Linked DNA regions of Homo sapiens: region 1 is linked to region 2. Evidence: promoter capture Hi-C in 16 types of primary human blood cells and fetal thymus (Javierre and others, 2016). All regions are on one chromosome and are shown on one strand. Each heading gives the region's core, a stretch centred on a gene start or on the middle of the fragment in contact. The rest is flanking DNA. Distances are from core to core; before and after follow the strand shown.

Region 1 (3,653 bases), core at 1,129-3,628, 140 kb before region 2:
TTTACATTTACATACGTTTGTCTTGACTTCAAATGGCGCCATGTGCTGTCTATGTGTGTATATGTTTTTATGAACTTTAACTTTTTATAATAGATTTGTGTGTATTTTATGGTAGTAAGTGATAAAATAGACTAATATCTACATGTATTTTATGTATTCATGACATACCTAACTTTTTCTTATTTTTTATATTTATTTCCAGGCTACATGGTTCATCTGTATTTTTATTTTATTTTTATTTTTTTATTTTTATTTTTGAGATGGAGTCTCACTCTGTCACCCAGTCTGGAGTGCAGTGGCGCAATCTTGGCTCACTGCAACCTCTGCCTCCTGGGTTCAAGCAATTCTTCTGCCTCAGCCTCCTAAGTAGCTGAGACTATAGGCATGCGCCACCACACCTGGATAATTTTTGTATTTTTAGTAGAGATGGGGTTTCACCATGTTGGCCAAGCTGGTCTCAAACTCCTAATGCCAGGTGATCCACCCGCCTCGGCCTCCCAAAGTGCTGGCATTACAGGCATGAGCCACCATGCCTGGCTGATCTGTATGTTTAAATAGTCGCAAATCTCAAAAAAATTTTTCAGTGTATTTATGGGGGAAAAATCCCATATATAAGTGGACCTGCACAGTTTAAACTCATGTTGTTCAAGGGTCAACTATATTTTGTTATCGCAGCCAGAGCCTGAGCCAAGTAAGACACCTTCTTTATTCCATTATCTCATAACTCCATTATCCTCAATTCTCACTTTCTTGTCATATAGTAGCATCACCAGGTTACATGGTGACTCACCTTCCAGTGCCCTTGCATTTGCTCCACAAGCTGCCTTAGGTTCCACCTGGCCTCCAACCCCCACACCTCCTACAGATTTGAGCATGCCCTCCTCGGGGCCCTCCAGCCCCCTTTAATCAAGATATGAAAGACAGACAGACACTAATATTTAATAAAACAGTTAAAACTGTAGGCTCTGAGGCCAGAATGTCACAGTTCTATCCTCTGCTAATTCCCTGACTTTAGGCAAGTAATTCAGCCTACCTGTGCTTCAGTTTCCTTATCTGGAAAACAAGGTCATTACATGAGTTAGTCTACCCATAGTACTTGGAACAGTGTCTAGCACATTACAAACATTCAGTAATTGTTACCATAATTAATACCCTGTCTCGGGCACAATGCTAAGTGCTTCATATGTAGTATCTTATGTAATTTTGATGTCAACCCTGTGAAACAGAATTGTCATCTCCTATTACATATAAGCAACATCCCTGGTCACTGTATCATTTTATCTTATTTTATTGTTTTTGTTTGTTTTTTGTTTTGAGACAGGGTCTCACTCTGTTGCCCAGGCAGGAATGCAGTGACACCATCACGGCTCACTGCAGCTTCCACCTCTCGGGCTGAGGTGATACCTCCTGCCTCAGCCTCCCAAGTAGCTGGGACCACAGGTGCACACCACCACACCAGCTAATTTTTTGTTTATAGTAGAGACAAGGTCTCACTATGTTTCCCAGGCTGGTCTCAAACTCCTGGGCTCAAGAGATCCTCCTGCCTTGGTTGGGGTTACAGGCGTGAGCCACCATACCCAACCATCTTATCTTATTGTCTTTTTAGTATCTACTACCATTTCCATATTACACCATTTATTAGTTTTCTTGTTTATTGTGTCTCCCCAACAACCCTGCATGCCTGAAAGTTCTAAGAGATAAAGAGACTTTGTCTTGTTCACCACAAAATTGCAGTGCCTAGTAGTAAATTCTCAATAAATATTTTTGAATACATGTATCATCAAATGAATGAAAAGGAGAGGTGAGGCCAGATGTGATGGCTCACGCCTGTTACCCCAGAACTTTGGGAGGCCGAGGTGGGTGGATCACCTGAGGTTAGGAGTTTGAGACCAGCCTGGACAACATGGCAAAACCCCGTCTCTACAAAAAATACAAAAAATTAGCCGGGCGTGGTGGCAGGCGCCTGTAGTCCCAGCTACTTGGGAGGCTGAGGCAGGAGAATGGCGTGAACCCGGGAGGCGGAGCTTGCAGTGAGCGGAGATTGCGCCACTGCACCCAGCCTGGGCGACAGAGCGAGACTCCATATCAAAATAAAATAAAATAAAATAAAATGAGAGGTGAACTTGCTAGGACAAGGTCACACAGCAAGTAAGTGACAGAACCAGATTTGACATCAGGTCTAGATGGTTCTAAAAATCAATATTTACTTCTGCTTCCCAGAGCAGCCACAGCTGGGGGGAAAAAGCTGTAGAGGGCAGGGAGAGGGAGTGGACAACATTCAGCTCCCTAAGCCAGCGCTTCCCCTCTCTCCTCCCATTGGTCAAGTGACATCACAGCTGGCGGAGTCGACATTGATATCCAAGGTGCTTTATGGACTAGCAACCCAGCTCCAGGTTGCACTTACAACCTCTTATGTCTCCACATCTAAGGGAGAGTAAATCTGTCTGATAAATCCCTGGGAGTTACGTCATTGATTAAAGGCTATGTGCATCTCTTCTTTTGATATTAATCCAAAGAGGATGCACCAGTCTCTACTCACATAGTATTTTCTCACACTTTCACAACAGAGTACTAGTAATCTTTTTTGATATTTTAATTTTTGCCAGTCTGAGAGATGCAGCTGGAGACTGCAATATTCTAAACCTCCCCAAATTGCTCCCGGGGATAACATCTTAGGTTACAGTAAAACCTAAGATCAGTGCTTGAGATAGTTTGCAGATCCTGTACTCGATGGATCAGCTGACACCACCCAGATCAATAAACTGGCTCATCTGGTCTTGTGGCCCCCACCCAGGAACTGACTCAGCGCAAGAGGACAGCTTCAGCTCCCTATGATTTCATCTCCAACCTGACCAATTAGCATTCCCCACTTCCTGAGACTCTACCCACCAAATTAACCTTAAAAACTCCAGTCCCTGAATTTCTGTGACCAGTCTCTGCTCTACATAGTATTTTCTCACACTTCCACAACACAGTATTAGTAATCTTTTTCATATTTAAATTTTTGCCAATCTGAGAGATGGAAAAGAACTCATTTTAGGTTGACTAATTCAATTATGAGTAGGACTATGCATTTTTTTCTTTTTCTTTTTTTTCTTTGTTTCTTTTTTTCTGAGGCAGAGTTTCACTTTTGTCCTCCAGGCTGGAGAGCAATGGCACGATCTTGGCCCACTGAAACCTCCGCGTCCCGGGTTCAAGTGATTCCCCTGCCTCAGGCTCTTGAGTAGCTGGGATTACATGTGCCCACCACCACGCCCAGCTAATTTTTTGTATTTTTAGTAGAGATGGGGTTTCACCGTGTTGGCCACGCTGGTCTCGAACTCCTGACCTCAGGTGATCCGCCTGCCGGAGCCTCCCAACGTGCTGGGATTACAGGCGTGAGCCACTGCGCCCAGCCCGTCTTTTCTTGTTTATTAGCCATGTATAAGCTGTTTGTCTGTGAGCTGCCTGTTCCTGTCTTTTGCTAATTTGATTTGAGATTCTGCATGAGGACCTAGAGCGGCCCCAAAGTCCCACACCCGTCCGCTCTTCTCTCCCCACTATCAGCCCCTCCCCCTGCTCTGCTCGGTTCTCTACTGCTGCCTAGTGACAGGGGTTAGTCTTACCACAGGCCTCACAGACGCAACTACTGCCTGCCTCTCCCTGAGGATAAA
Region 2 (3,874 bases), core at 425-2,924:
GTTCCAGACCAGCCTGGCCAACATAGTGAAATCCTGTCTCTACTAAAAATACAAAAAATTAGCTGGGTGTGGTGGTGGGCACCTGTAATCCCAGCTACTCGGGAGGCTTAGGCAGGAGAATCGCTTGAACCCGGGAGGCAGAGGTTGCAGTGAGCCAAGATCACACTATCGCACTCCAGCCTGGGAAGCAAGAGCAAAACTCTGTCTCAAAAAAAAAAAAAAAAAAAAAAAAAAAAAATATATATATATATATATATATATATATATATATATGTAAAATTTATTTTAATATTTATAAATGTTGCATTTATAAAATATATAAATAATATATATTACCTGGCATTCCTCCAACTCACAAAGGTACAGTTGCTCTAATTAAAGGGACTCCTGGTTAAGCCGTGGCTTTAAGAACAGTTTGAAAACCTTCTTGCTTTTAAAAGACATAAAACAGCAAGTAAAATGGAAGGACAGACAGACCTCTAGTTTGGTTTGACTGGAGCTGTATGCTTAACTAAGGAGCTGAAAAACAGAGGCGGAGGTTGCAGTGAGCCGAGATGGTGCTACTGCACTCCAGCCTGGGCGATGGAGTGAGAGTGACTCAAAAAAAAAAAAAAAAGAAAAAGAAAAAGAAAAACAATACCTATTAATAGCCTTTATTTGTGCGTGTTAGCAACAGTTTATAATGATGCTTCCACATGCTTTCAGTTAGGCCCTCCTTGTGAATGTGACCTTCACTTAGACGCCAACTTTGAAGGGAATCAATACTACGGCCTTGTTCTCATTAGGGCTGTACTAAAATAATTGAAACTGTCACACATCATCAAACTCAAAATTTTACAATACCTTGAATGACACTGTGCTTACAAAACTGACGGTGATGTGTAATGATGACTAATGTAAGTCACCATGAAGAATTTTTATGGGAAGTAAAAATTCAATTAAGATGGAAGTACCTACCCTTGCATTGTGCAAGGCAATGAAGATCTGAAGGAAGCCTGCCTTCAAGGGCTTGGATTTTGACAGCGGACAGGTACACAAATACAGCACCAGGTAAAATACGGCCTGTATTATCATTTATGGGTGGGTACAGAGGAGAAATTCTGACTTACGGAATGATTTCCTGGAGAAGAAATTACTATCTGGCTTCTTGTGAAACAAAGGCTCTACACTTTACCCTTGCCAACGTATAGTATGAAGGTCTTTAAGCTTAAAAAAAATCATTAATTAGAGGACCACTGGGCATCATCTAAGGCAAGTGTATGACTTTAGAGTCGGGAGAAATTTGCGCCTGAGCTAGAAATGCACTAGCCTACCATTATCACAAGAGCAAGTCAGTGACAGAACAGTTCTCTGACCGCCAGTGCAGTGCCCTCCCACTTGATCAATCAGTCATTAAGGCTCACTGGCAAGCCCTTCGTACTTCTTCCCTCTCCGGCACTAGCTTCCTTAAGTCGACTCTGTGAAATACCTGCTAATCTTATCCTGAACCAGAGTTTCGACCCTCGGAACAGTCTTGCCCACATCTTTGGGACCCGATTCGTCCTGCTGATTCCGGCACTCGAGGGGCGGGTTGGTTGGAACCCACCCCACCAGGCCCCTCTCAATCCCACACGGTGTCCACCCTTGCCCGCAGGACGGCGGCCCGGAAGTGACGTAGTGGAAGCGGAAGTGGTGTAGTGGTGCCGACTTCCTGTTGTTTGAGGCCGGGTTGGGGGTGTGCGATTGTGTGGGACGGTCTGGGGCAGCCCAGCAGCGGCTGACCCTCTGCCTGCGGGGAAGGGAGTCGCCAGGCGGCCGTCATGGCGGTGTCGGAGAGCCAGCTCAAGAAAATGGTGTCCAAGGTGAGGCTGCGACGCGCTCGCCTCCCAGGGCGCGCCCACCGCTCCCTTCCGCGCCCTGTCGAGTCCGTCCCGGCCCAGCCAAGCAAGCTTCCCAGACGGGCCGGAAGCCCCGGTGCAGTCCTTAGCGACCTCCTCAGAACCCCGCCCCGAGGCGCCTGTCGCCTGGTGCGGGAATCCCCGTACGGGAGCTGGGAGGGTGGGGGACGGCGACAGTCAACAAAGGCGTGGAGCGGAGGCTACCTGACACCTGCCGCCCACCCGCCCTCCTCTCTTCCACTGAGTTTGGAGCTGTCTGTGGGGCAGTGTAGTTTTTCGTTTGTTTTTATAAACACAAACAAGGGATCATACTTAGTTGTAGATCTGAGGCAATCCTCTACTCCTGTCCCAATCTAGGGATCCTCCAGTCTTAGCCTTTCTTTTGCCGACCCGCAGAGAGTGTGGCCTTTTCAGTTTTGTATTCTCCAGAAAAGAAGCGAAAATACCAGTCCCTTACTGCCCCAGGTGAAATACATACCATTACCATTTCAGGGATTTTCTAAGAGTAACTACTTTTAAGTGTATGCTTCTTATAACGCGTATTTATTTGCTTTGAGCTTAATTTATGATCTTCACGGCTCAAGACTAGTGTTTTTTTTTTCAATTTTTAAAAAAGCAGTTAAGCATTTTGTATTTTAAAGCCATGATTTATTTATATAATTACTTCAAACGTGGCACCTCACACCAGAGTGGAATGGCTTTTGTTATGTTTTGTTGTAATTTTCCAAAACTATGTAAAATGATTGAGAGTTGAGTCTTGACCAGTTCAACGTGTTAGCTTGGGATAGTTTTGTCAAAGCAAGAATGGTAGCAATCAGCGGTTTAAGCGGTTTCAATTTTTAATAAAACACACTATTATGTGTAAAACTTTTTTAAAAACAGACTTTTTCCAGTTAAATCGCCCCCATAGTTCTTGATTGAAGACCAAATAATCTCTAAGGAGAAAATGACAGCTTTCAAAATAAAGCATATATTGGTTGTGTAATCGTATATTTTAGGCTTCTTGGTTTTGTTTTGATAAACTTGTTATCCTTAGTTATAGAAGACATATGGGAAGCCATAGAAGATTGTGACCCAGGTAAAGATCCATGTTGTAACTTTTATATATCACTTTTTGAAAAAAACGGTATATTGTTTTACATAGTATGTAACTGAAGAGTATCTGTTCCATGACTCTTTTTTTTTTTTTTTTTTTTTTAGAGTCTTGCTCTGTCACCCAGGCTGGAGTGCAGTGGCACGATCTTGGCTCACTGCAATCTCCGCCTCCCAGGTTCAAGCGATTCTCCTGCCTTAGCCTCCCAAGTAGCTGGGGATTACAGGTGCCCACCACTTCACACAGCTGATTGTTGTATTTTTAGTAGAGACGGGATTTCACCATGTTGGCCAGGCTGGTCTTAAACTCCAGACCTCAGTGATCCACCGCTTTGGCTTCCCAAAATGATGGGAATACAGGCGTGAGCCACCACACCTGGCCTCCATGACATTTTTGATCTTTAAATTGATAGCATAGTCATTAAGATTTAGTCCTTGGGCTGGGCGCAGTGGCTTACGCCTGTAATCCTAGCACTTTGGGAGGCCAAGGCGGGTGGATCACCTGAGGTCACGAGTTCAAGACCAGCCTGATCAACATGGTGAAACCCCGTCTCCTAAAATACAAAAATTAGCCGGGCATGATGGCGGGTGCCTGTAATCCCAGCCTACTCGGGAGGCTGAGATGGGAGAATCGCTTGAACCTGGGAGACGGTGGTTGCAGTGAGTCGAGATCAGGCCACTGCACTCCAGCCTGGGTGGCTGAGCAAGACTCCATCTCAAAAAAAAAAAAAAAAAGATTTATTCCTTAATGTATGTATATTCATATAAAGAGCAAGAATATTCAAATATTAGCTTATTTTTTATACCCTAATTAAGTTTCCTAAGCTTCCCTAGAGAAACCTGCCATCAAAGACAAAGGCAAGGCATGTTCAGAAGATATTTTATACCTCTACCTGCCTTCCCCT

The links. Contacts are between HindIII fragments. The CHiCAGO score rates a contact against its expected background, and 5 or more counts as called.
Region 1: a fragment that was not itself captured here is called in contact with the fragment with the promoter of TSG101 in region 2 in 1 of 17 cell types (naive CD4 T cells); the score reaches 6.5 in naive CD4 T cells.

The regions. Positions count from the first base shown.
Region 1 is chr11:18,668,607-18,672,259 of GRCh38, reverse strand. No RefSeq gene overlaps it. Among named protein-coding and RNA genes, the nearest start is that of TMEM86A, 28 kb to the left of the region's middle. RefSeq lists an enhancer at 3,303-3,653. The HindIII fragment of the contact is 8,479 bases long and covers 1-3,653 here.
Region 2 is chr11:18,524,742-18,528,615 of GRCh38, reverse strand. It overlaps TSG101 (tumor susceptibility 101), which reads left to right and starts at 1,674. Exons shown (of 10, transcript NM_006292.4): 1 at 1,674-1,841. The coding sequence starts at 1,800. RefSeq lists an enhancer at 1,405-1,514. The HindIII fragment of the contact is 722 bases long and covers 1,209-1,930 here.